4 separate regions of the Homo sapiens genome follow, and regions 1, 2 and 4 are each linked to region 3. The links are contacts of gene promoters, found by promoter capture Hi-C in blood cells and fetal thymus (Javierre and others, 2016). All regions are on one chromosome and are shown on one strand. Each heading gives the region's core, a stretch centred on a gene start or on the middle of the fragment in contact. The rest is flanking DNA. Distances are from core to core; before and after follow the strand shown. Region 1 overlaps LOC107985251 (a long non-coding RNA gene). Region 2 overlaps CD55 (CD55 molecule (Cromer blood group)). Region 3 holds the start of C4BPB (complement component 4 binding protein beta). Region 4 overlaps LINC02942 (long intergenic non-protein coding RNA 2942).

Region 1 (2,858 bases), core at 270-2,769, 140 kb after region 3:
GCTTCACTACAAAAAAAATCCTTCCCAAATATCCTTAAAATATCTTCCGTTTCTGTCATTTCAATGTTTTTTATTCAGGTGAGGGAGATAAGAGCTTTCTAACCGGTTATGAGTCACCTACTTCATCAGTGAGAGAGGGTTACTTGACTTTGCAAATAACAAGAATATTGTTTTTCAGCCAAAACTTCCATTTTACAGCCTTTTACACCTCTGAAGCTGCCACATAAAGTACTTACCTAATGCTTTCTATAGAGAGCAGAAAATAGTAGTATTCTAAGAAGGAGCAGTGGGTTTTGAACTGATAGAAGCCTGAGTTTAATCCCTAAGTTTCATTCATGTCACTGGCACTTAGTAACTGTGATCTTATGCAGAATAACTGACCTCTCTAAGGTTGTGTTTCCTTTTCTGTAGAATAAATATATGATAAACATATATAAAATGCAAGTGGCTAAGAACTCAAAATATCATTCCTATTGAGAGCCATAGGCAACCACAGGCAGGAATGATCACCGCGTGCCAGGATTGCATGTGGAGAAAGGTAGAGAGCATTGTAGTAGGGCAAATGGCAGAAGAAAAGGCACAGAAGTGAGAATGCACATGGCTTAATAGGAGAACACTGAACCGGTGAGAGTGCCTGAGAACAGTGCACACATGAAGGAGTAGTTCTTGGTGAGGATGGAGTCCATGAGAAAGGAGCCAGCAGTTTTAATTTGCTTTTTAGCAAATAAGTTGGAAACAGCTTTAACTTAGATTCAGTCCTTACAGGAACTCTTCCCTTAGTGTGGTGCTTTATCAACATACTCAAAGCTCTAAATTTATTAAATTGCACTAAATCTTGTCTGCAAAACTTTTGGCACTATAGATCATTCCTTTACTGACAGGCTAACTCAACAACTCAACATTGCATCTTTCTTTCTTTCTCTCTCTCTCTCTCTCTCTTTCTTTCTTTTTTTTTTTTGAGGTGGAGCCTTGCTCTGTTGCCCAGGCTGGAGTGCAGTGGCATGATCTTGGCTCACTACAACCTCCACCTCCCAGGTTCAAGCGATTCTCATGCCTCAGTCTCTTGAGTAGCAGGATTATGGGCATGCTCCACCACACTAATTTTTGTATTTTTAGTAGAGACGGGGTTTTGCCATGTTGGTCATGCTGGTCTGGAACTCCTGACCTCAAGTGATCTGCCCACCTCAACTTCCCAAAGTGCTCTTTGCATATTTCTTACTTCCAAATATGCCATTGTTTTGCATTGTTTCAACAAACCTCTCTCCAAAAATTGCAAAATGATAAAACATTCTCTTTGTGGAGGGGGTGGTAGTTGGAAGAGGTGGGGGGACTCAACCGGATTCATTCACTCTTTAACCATTTTCAAAGATAATCAACTCTTTTTTAAAAAGCTTATTAGAATATAATACACATATAGAAAAGTATACAAAGTGAAAATGTACAGCAACATGATTCATCAAAAATCAAACACTTAATGAAAATGTCACCCAGGTAGAGATGTAGGACATTGCCAGCCCCCAGAAGTCCCATGGGGGCCCTCCCATTTACTACTTCATCCTTCTTCAAATGTAACCATCATCCTGATTTGCAGAGTAATCATTTCTTTATTTTATTTATACTTGTTCTGTAGCTTAGTTTTGCATTTTTAAAAGCTTTAATAATGGAATAGAATTATACATTAATGGTCTGTCTGCTTTTGCTCAATGTATTTGTGAGATTCACCCATTTTTTTGTAAATAGTATCTCATTCATTTTTATTGCTGTCTAGTACTCCATCAGTTGAATGTACCATAATTTACTTATCTGTTCTAGAGTTGATGGATTTTTAGGCTCTTTCATGTTTGGTCACATTACAAATAATGTTGCTGAAAACATTTCTGAGCTTGTCTTTTAGTGCACATGTTTGTGTATTTCTGCCAAGAAAATATCCATGATTGTAATTGCCAGGTTCTAGGACATAACCACAAACTGTTTTTGGAAGTGGCTGTACCAATTTATATTTCCTTAGGTAGTTCATTGGAGTTCCATTGTGTCCTACTCATGAAAACTTTGGTATTATCATAGTTTTCAATTGTAGACATTCTGGTGAGTGTGTAGTGATTTCTCATTGTGGCTTTTATTTGTATTTCCTGATGACCCATGTGATTAAGCACCTATTAATATGTCTGTTGACAATCTGTATAGCCCCTCTATAGGAACATCTATTCAAGTCTCTCAGCTGTTTTTAAATTGCACTGTCTGCTTTTTGAAAATTAATTTGTGGCCTTTCTTTTTATTTAACCTCATGATTACTGAATATGATTCTGTTTTGGAGTAACTCCCTGTGGCTAAATTAATGCTTTTGTACCCAGAAGTTCATGAACAGTGTAAAAGTTTACTGATTTTGTCAAGGAGACGAAATGTACATCAGCAGTACAATAAGTTAATGACCTAGTTCTGCATAACGAGAAGGGTCGCTCACTGAATTGTTCATTAAATGAAACTCTAGCTCATTCTCCTCTACCTTCTCTCTCACCATTCAAGTTTGCAGAATGGTTCCTCCCATTGGCCATGGGTCCTATGAAGATGTGAGATCATTTTTTATTCTCTACTACTCTGGTGCACTGTCACTGTGATGATGGATATGTTCTAATTGGAGAGGCTGAAGTCACCTGCAGAAATTCACATTGGTCAGCTCCAGCCCCTCAATGTAAAGGTTAACTCCAAACTTACTGAGGGCCCTTGCTAAGAAGGTAGAGCCTCTATGAAAGGTCAAACAAGAGTCTCCTCCTAGACAGAGGCAGCACTTAGAAATTTACACTTTACTTATTTATTTAATTTGCATAATTAATATATACACATGGTACAATATTTTAATA
Region 2 (2,700 bases), core at 94-2,593, 240 kb after region 3:
ATTAGGGCCACCCCTAACATTTTCAGGGCCCAGGCAAGAATATAAATGGAGGTCGCTGGCCTAAGACCCACCTTGTATCAAATAGCCCTTCCTCTTCCCACACTGTATGGGTTCTCTGGTGCACATAAGCGGACAACTCAGCCTACATACCCAAGACATGTCCACCACATCCACCATAACTTGTATCCACCCTCCATTGTCTGTTGGGTTAGAGGTGAGTATATCAGCAGGATAGACCACCCTCAAGAACATGGACCAGTGGGAGGGACCCTCTCAGGCCCTGGAAGGGGTGTTGGCACAGGGAATTCTGGGTGCTAGTTCCTGGAGCATGTTCTGGAATGGAGGAGAAGTCGTAGGACAGGCTGTCATTGAGTATATGCTATCAGCCTACAAACATCCCACCAACAGGGGAGAAATGCATCCAGAGGAGGGCCAGAGCACAGCCTTTTAAAATGTGGGGTTTGAGGCAGCAATCTTAGTTGCCTGAGTTCAAGAGTGACACTGATAGCAATGGCCTCCTGCCTCCATTCTTTCACTCTATTAATGTTTCATCCATATTTTACCCAGAGCGATCTGAAACACAGATGTGACTTAGACATCTATTTCCTCCTTAGAGCTTATTCATATCTCCTATCACTTAAAAAGCCCAAATTCCTTAGTATAGTGTACAAGGCAGCCATGGTCTACCTACTGCTTGACACTCAGGTCTTGCCTTCATGTTTTATGCCTTATACATGCAAACTGCTGTGGTTTCCATGTACCTCTTTTTTTTCTTTTTTTTAAATTGAGACAGGGTCTCACTCTGTTGCCCAGGCTGAAGTGCAGTGGTGCGATCACAGCTCACTGCAGCCTCAACCTCCTTGGCCCAAGTGATCCTCCCACCTCAGCCTCCCTTGTAGCTGGGACTATAGGTGCACACCACCATGCCCAGCTAATTTATGTATTTTTTGCATAGACAGGGCTTCCTCATGTTGTCCAGGCTGGTCTCGAACTCCTGGGCTCAAGCAGTCTGCCCGCCTCAGCCTCCCAAAGTTCTGGGATTACAGGTGTGAACCACCATGCCCCGCTGCCCCTTCTTTACTTAGCTATATTTTCCTTACTAAGAGTTAGTTCCCTAGCCCATCAGAAAGATTCCCAGGCTGGCTACTTCGGGATGACCCTTGCATTTTTTATTGAAATCATTTCTGAATCTTTTTTCCCACTAGCTTTTAAGACATAGGAACTATATCTTGTTCAGCTTTGCGCTTCCAATTATAAAAAAATGCCTGGCGTGTGTTAGGCACTCAGAAAATGTTTGAACTGAACCAATGGTGTGTGTGTCTCTGCACACTCTAAGTTAGTGTAAATCAGAACAGCTTGTTGTTGCTGCTTGTTTTGATCCAAGACCAAAGAGTGATTGATAAATGTGCTAAGTATTTTCTGTGTTCTTAAGTATGTTTGGTGTAACATAATTTGGCATACACACATATTAAATTGCCTTCATTCTTAAAAAAAAAAAAAAGGACAACAACATCATGCCTTTAGATTATGTGGAACCATTGAATTTTTTCTCAGGGTAACTGCCAGGGAGTGGTCCCTTTTTACAGTATAACTAAAAAAACTTCTGCTTGTATTTATTTTGTAAGTTCAGCTGCTCAGTAAGATTGTTTTGAGTGAAGTCTCTGTGAGTCCATATGTGCTAAAAATTTTTACTCTAGAAGTCAAAATGTAATCCTGACATTTAAGATCTCTGCTGTATCCAAAATGATCTATACTTAACTCTTAAACATGCTGCTTGAATTTTCAACTCCTTGCATTTGCTAGCGTTTCCCTCTTAGAGTGAAGAGCAACGCTTTCTCCGCTGTTCTCTCTCAAAAGCATGGTACATATTAGGTTTAAACTCAAGTTCTATTTCCCTGCCCAAGTCTTCTCTGACTACACTGCTTTCATCTCTAAAATCCTGCAGCATTCACTTTTCCTAGCACCGTTTTGATATGCACACATCTTACTATAATTTTTCTTTTACATACATGTTCTGAATCTTATTATTTCTATGAATTGGTCTCAAGGTTAGCATTTGTCTTCTACACCATTTGCATTCAAAGCTCCCACATACTACCAATTACTTAATAGGCATTTATAAGCATCTCTTGTTGGTAATGCTGAATTTAGAAAAATGATATTTTGATTTCTTTAAAATATAATCTTTAACATGTTTTGATCTTATTTGTAAAAATACTTTACTAGTTTTATTTATTTAAAAGATGTTGGAATTGTTTTTTAAGAAATTTATTGTCCAGCACCACCACAAATTGACAATGGAATAATTCAAGGGGAACGTGACCATTATGGATATAGACAGTCTGTAACGTATGCATGTAATAAAGGATTCACCATGATTGGAGAGCACTCTATTTATTGTACTGTGAATAATGATGAAGGAGAGTGGAGTGGCCCACCACCTGAATGCAGAGGTAATCACTTTGGATAGTTATATTTTTGCTTTATTCTTACCCTCAGGTCTATATGTGGGTTGCAGACATTCAATGAACCCCCTAAGAAAAAAATGTAAAATGTTTACATATACATATTTGTATTTTTCTGTGGGACACAATTTTTCTACAGCTTCTCAGAAGGGTCTATGGCTTGTATACACACACACACACACATACTCACACATATTATGATGTGTATATATAAAATAGGCCTCATATTTTTGGC
Region 3 (2,794 bases), core at 271-2,770:
TTTTAACTTTTTGAAAATCATGTCTTAGAGGGTGCTTACACTATAGGAATTTGCATATTAGTTAAGAAAAGATAAGACATAAAAAATCATAAGGCAGCATGTGATAAATGGCAAGTGATCATATGGATTTTGGGGGCTGTGGTAGAGTTTCTGGATGACAGTTTTTTTCATTTATTTCTGCATTACTTTCATTCATTTAACAGACAACTGCTTTGCAATATGAAGCACCGTGGAAGGGAATACAAATACAAATCAGACACAAACCCTGTCCTGGAGTTAGCAGTTTCCTGTGGGAATAAAGGGGAGGAAAAAAACACCTTTCCTCTACCATATTGTATTCAGTGGCTGGGACCTGCAAATTAGACTAAGACAGATTAACAGGAGAGAAAATTCTATTTATACATGTAACTTGAGTACATGTGGGAAAACTCAGTGATAAGTAATTCAAAAAGTTGGTTAGAATTGGGGCTTATACATCATCTTAATAGGTGAAGGTGGGGAGAAGAAAGGCACTTACAAGAAAACAGATTATTGGCCGGGTGCGGTGGCTCATGCCTATAATCCCAGCACTTTGGGAGGCCAAGGCGGGTGGATCATTTGAGGTCAGGAGTTCAAGACCAGTTTGGCCAACATGGTGAAACCCCATCTCTACTAAAAATACAAAAATTAGCCAGGCGTGGTAGCGCATGCCTGTAATCTCAGCTACTCGGGAGACTGAGGCACAAGAATGGCCTGAACCTGGCAGGTGGAGGTTGCAGTGAGCCAAGATCATGCCAAGACACCATCTCAAACAAAAAAGAAAACAGATTATTTTTTGGAAAGGCAAGTGGGTTTTCAGGGGAAAAGTAGGAAATTAGAAAGTTTTGTGATAATGTTTGTGTATATAAGTACGAGTGTTCTTTCTGTCTCCTTCAAGGCCATGAAATTTCTCTGGAGAAGGAATTTGAAATATGTTTTACTCATGCTCTCCCCTCCAGGATAGACCTACCCTGAAAAGGAATTTATGGCAACCTTATCTCCAAGGTTGCTGCCTTTAGTCAGATAAGGAAAGCCCCCAAAATCTCTGTTCCTTTCCATATCACTGAATCTCAAATATCTTCAGCTTAAAAGAATCTTAACGCCAAATATTTGGGGGTGGCATATCCTGATTCCTTTCAGGAGAAAGACATAGATTAATCATCACAAACAGTAGTAATGGATGGAGAAGAGAAGAACATTTGCAACCTTACTGTGTCCTTAATGCTTTATTATTCTATTAAAACCTGAAATTTTGTAGGAATTTTTCCCCAGTTTCATAATTACAGCACAGAGAACCAACCAAGGGTTATAGTAGTCACAAGCAAGATGATATGGGATCCCTCAAAACAATTTTACATGCCTTAATTCCTGAGACCAAAGCATTCTCCTCACCTCTCTCTTTACTCATTTGGTTAACTCTGGACTCAGGCCAAATCCTGTCCCTGGAAGAGCCACAAAGTAGGAAGCCTGGGTACAGGCCTGGCAAGCGAGAACAATGTGTCACTGCAGGACTTTGGAGCTCTCAGCTTTGGAGTCAGTTAAGACCAGTTCCTTGCTGGGAAGCCCTAACTCTGGAGGGACAGAGACAGGTAAGGTTAGTTTACTTCCTTGAGCTTTCGTCTTCAGTGCTGCTTACAGCCTTAGGATATCTGGTATTCAGGAAAGGAGGATGAGGTAGCATTCAAAATTGTGTTCTACCTGGGCAAGAACCAGGGATTGACAGCCCGTTCTCTTTCCCCAGTGCTGGCCAGAGTTACAGAAGTTGGACTGTAAACATTGGCAACTATTGACAGAAGTCAAGGTCATGGCAAGACCATTTGGCCCATGTTTGTTGGGGAAGGATAAGCCTGCGTTTCAAAAAGACTGGTCAACTGGATTTGCATTCCCAGAAACCAGGAAATTTCTGAAACTGAGTTTTAAACCTGGCAACTCTTTTACCATCCCTTTGTATTTTTGCAGTTCCTCCCTATACCAGCTTCCTTACAGCTGTTCTGATTTCCTGTCGTAAGATTTTTTCTTTTCATTTTCTCCAGGGAGGGTAAATCAATATAACCTCTTCTCTAGAGAGGAGGTGGTTAGGTTGGTCTTAAGCAGTGTTAGAAGATCTATTTTTTTTCAAACCAGGTGTCTGAGCTGGGTGAATTCCAGCCTGGGGAGAGGACTTTGATCACCAGATGTTTTTTTGGTGTGCGTGCTGTCTTATGGTTGCGTGGCGAGTTTCTGCTTCAGATGGTACGTATGCTTTCCTTCAACTCAGCTTACAGGCATTTGGTGTCCTTTTGCGGTGTTTTGAGGAACTCTGTCTAGGGCTTTAAGGAAGTTTACATTTATAATATCTTTATTCTTCTATTGAAAAATCTCAAATTGGCCTAATGCTCTGCACTCAATAGGAGCTTAGTGTACATTTAATGATAACCCTGATCTCTGAAGTGGGTGGTTACTGTTTTTTTACTTTCCCTTTCTGTTCTGGGAGCAAAAAGAGTACCAATTTCAAAATCCTGGGAGGTCTTACTTGTTATAAACTCCAGGATCGCTATTTGTGTAGGGGACTATTTGTTTAGAAGTGGACAACTTGTGGTTGAATTTGAGTAAAATTCCTGTTATACTTTTGAAAATAAAACTTCGGAATTCCGGCCGGGCGCAGCGGCTCAAGCCTGTAATCCCGGCACTTTGAGAGGCCGAGGTGGGCGGATCACGAGGTCAAGAGATCGAGACCATCCTGGCTAAGACAGTGAAACCCCGTCTCTGCTGAAAATACAAAAAATTAGCTGGGCGT
Region 4 (2,896 bases), core at 397-2,896, 170 kb after region 3:
CCATCCAAGAGCCAAGGCCTGGAAATAGGGACCCCCAAGAGCCTGCTTGATGGTTTGCCCCTGTGGTTGAGCTGGTATGTAAGGTACAAGACAAAGTCCCCTTTACTTTTCCTTCTGCTTTTCTCCAGCAGGAGGAGTCATTCCATAGCCACAACAACTGGGAATGTGCTGGGTCTCACTTGAAGCCAGCATGTCTCAGAATCTTACCCAAGGCCCAGAGTGTACTACCTGGGTCTCACTACTGATTATTCAGGGCCCAAGCCTCTTTAGTCAGCAGGTGATGAGGTACTGCTGGAACTGGGTCCTTCTCTTCAAGGCAGCAGTTTCCCTTCTGGCCCAGGGTATGTCTAGAAATGTCATCCAGGAGCTAGAGCCTCGAGTGGGGGCTTCACAATTCTGACTGGTACCCTATCTTACTGTAGCTGAACTTGTATCCAAGATGCAAGACAAAGTCCTTATTACTCTTGCCCTTCTTCTCCTCAAGCAAAAGCAAGAGGTCTCTTTTGGAGCCACGAGCTGTGCTGTCTGAGGTTTGGGGAGGGGTAGCACAAGCCCTGGCTGCCCTGGCTGATGTCCCAGTAGGTCACATGCCCCCCAGTTCCACGGGCTCTGAGCCCAGCTCAGAACTAGGACTTGCCTTGGAGTTGCAGTCCTTGTGGCCCAGATTACATTTCAAGTTTATTTAGGCCTCAAAGCACTTTAGCCTGTGGTGGCAAAGCTTGCTGGAACTCAAATTCCAACTACTGGGATGGGTGATTCCCATCTGGTGAGGGCTCCTCAAACTGCTTCCTCTATAGGTGGGCATCTGCTGAGTTCAGCCTTATTTTGCTTTTCGCTGTGACAGGGGAGCACTGAGGTCAATGCAAAGTCTCACAGTTGCTGCATTCTCCCTCTCCCAAGCACACAGATTCTCTCTCTGCCTCATGTGGCCACTGCCAGGGTATGGGGTAGTGGTGTCAGCAATTCAAGACTGTCTTTCCTATTGTCTTTGGTGCCTCTGTCAGCAGTAGGAAGTTAAAACCAGGTACTGTGAGTGTTCACCTAGTTTTTGGTTCTCACGAAGATGCTTTTATTGTGTAGATAGTGTTAAATTTGGTGCTTCTGTAGGAGGGACAATCAGTGGAGATGTCTATTCAACTATCTTGCTCCTCCCCTCTTTCCAGATCTAATTTTTAATTTTTTATTGCTATACTATGGTTGTACACATTTGGGGGTGCATGTAATATTTTGACACATGTATATAATGTGTAATTATTCAATCATTGTAATTGGGATATCTATCACCTTAAACATTTATCTTTGTGTTGAAAACATTACAGTTCTCTTCTAGCTATTTGGAAATATACAATAAATTATAGCTAACTATCAAATACCAGAAATTACTCCTTCTATCAATCGTATTTTTGTATCCCTTAACCAACTTCTGTTCATCAGTCTCCCCCTACTTCCCTTGCAATGTAATTTCTGACATTCCTGACTGTCATATCTAATCACTTCTAATCAGAATAACAATGACATTAAAAATGTCATTTAGGCCAGGCACGGTGGCTCACACCTGTAATCCCAGCACTTTCGGAGGCCGAGACGGGCAGATCACCTGAGATCAGGAGTTTAAGACCAGCCTGGACAACATGGCAAAACCCTGTCTCTACTAAAAGTACAAAAATTAGTTGGGCATGGTGGCGAGTGCCCGTAATCCCAGCTACTCAGGAGGCTGAGGCAGGAGAATTGCTTGAACCCAAGAGGTGGAGGTTGCAGTGAGCTGAGATCACGTCACTGCACTCCAGCCTGAGCGACAAGAGAGAGACTCCGTCTAAAAAAAAAGAAAAAGCCCTTCAGATTTAGAGTTACTAGTGAACCTTTTCAAAGAATCTAAGTATATATTCTAGATGTGGCACAGAGTGAGAAGTCTCCTTATGTGCTTTATATTAAGATTCTGTCAGTTGATGAATAAATATATGATATTTGTATTACTATAAATATGTCCTATATGTACACTACTATGATTAATGATGACTGTTAAAGCTATTTATTGTATGTGCAAAAAAACTTTTTAATATTTAAATAATAGGAAAATTGTTTCACAGTTAATATAAATATCAATAGTGCATTATTTAGAGAACATTAAGAAAAACATAATTTTTCTGCCAACAAACATCTAATAAAATTAAATAATTGTACATGTCAACATACAAATACCTGTAGCATTTCTATACAACAATATCAAACTAGCTGAAAAGGAAGTCAAGAAACCATTTACAATTGCAACAAAAAAATAAAATACCTAGGAATAAATGTAACTAAGGAGGTGAAAGACATCTATAAGAAAAATTACAAAACACATTGATGGAAGAAATTGATGACACAAAGAATTGGAAAAACATCCCAAGCTCATGAATTGGAAGAATTAATATTGTCAAAATCACCATACTGCACAAAGTAATCTAAAGATTCAGTGAAACCCGAGCAATAAATATCAGTGATATTCTTCACAGAAATAGCAACAACAATCTAAAATTCACATGGAACTAAAAAAGAGCCCTAGTAGCCAAAGCAATCCTGAGCAAAAAGAACAAAGCTTGAGGCATCATGTTATCTGATTTCAAAATATAATACAAGGCTATAGTAACAAAAACAGCATGGTGTTGGTATAAAAATAGACCTGTGGAAGAGAATAGAGAACCCAGAAATAAAGCCACATATTTGCAGCTAACTCATCTTTGACAAAGCTGACAAGAATTTACACTGGGGAAAAGACATCCTCTTTACTAAATGGTGCTGGGTAAACTGGATTGCCACATGCAGAAGAATGAAACTGAATACCTATCTCTCACCATATTAAAGAATCAACTCAAAATGGATTAAAGACTTAAATGTAAGACCAAAATCTATAAAA

The links. The method cuts DNA at HindIII sites, captures the fragments that hold promoters and counts their contacts. A CHiCAGO score of 5 or more calls a contact.
Region 1: a contact is called between a fragment that was not itself captured here and the fragment with the promoter of C4BPB in region 3, in 1 of 17 cell types (monocytes). The highest score is 5.2, in monocytes.
Region 2: a fragment that was not itself captured here is called in contact with the fragment with the promoter of C4BPB in region 3 in 1 of 17 cell types (total B cells); the score reaches 5.4 in total B cells.
Region 4: a fragment that was not itself captured here is called in contact with the fragment with the promoter of C4BPB in region 3 in 2 of 17 cell types (M2 macrophages and monocytes); the score reaches 6.3 in M2 macrophages.

The regions. Positions count from the first base shown.
Region 1 is chr1:207,223,263-207,226,120 of GRCh38, forward strand. The region is part of intron 1 of LOC107985251 (a long non-coding RNA gene); the gene reads right to left. It also overlaps the pseudogene C4BPAP2. Among named protein-coding and RNA genes, the nearest start is that of LINC02942, 15 kb to the right of the region's middle. The HindIII fragment of the contact is 261 bases long and covers 1,390-1,650 here.
Region 2 is chr1:207,328,844-207,331,543 of GRCh38, forward strand. It overlaps CD55 (CD55 molecule (Cromer blood group)), which reads left to right. Exons shown (of 10, transcript NM_000574.5): 6 at 2,265-2,453. Among named protein-coding and RNA genes, the nearest start is that of CD55, 8.5 kb to the left of the region's middle. The HindIII fragment of the contact is 5,587 bases long and covers 1-2,700 here.
Region 3 is chr1:207,087,340-207,090,133 of GRCh38, forward strand. It overlaps C4BPB (complement component 4 binding protein beta), which reads left to right and starts at 1,521. Exons shown (of 7, transcript NM_001017365.3): 1 at 1,521-1,607; 2 at 2,143-2,250. The coding sequence starts at 2,193. The HindIII fragment of the contact is 12,500 bases long and covers 1-2,794 here.
Region 4 is chr1:207,259,429-207,262,324 of GRCh38, forward strand. All of the region lies in intron 2 of LINC02942 (long intergenic non-protein coding RNA 2942), which reads left to right. The region is part of intron 1 of LOC107985251 (a long non-coding RNA gene); the gene reads right to left. Among named protein-coding and RNA genes, the nearest start is that of LINC02942, 21 kb to the left of the region's middle. The HindIII fragment of the contact is 1,860 bases long and covers 717-2,576 here.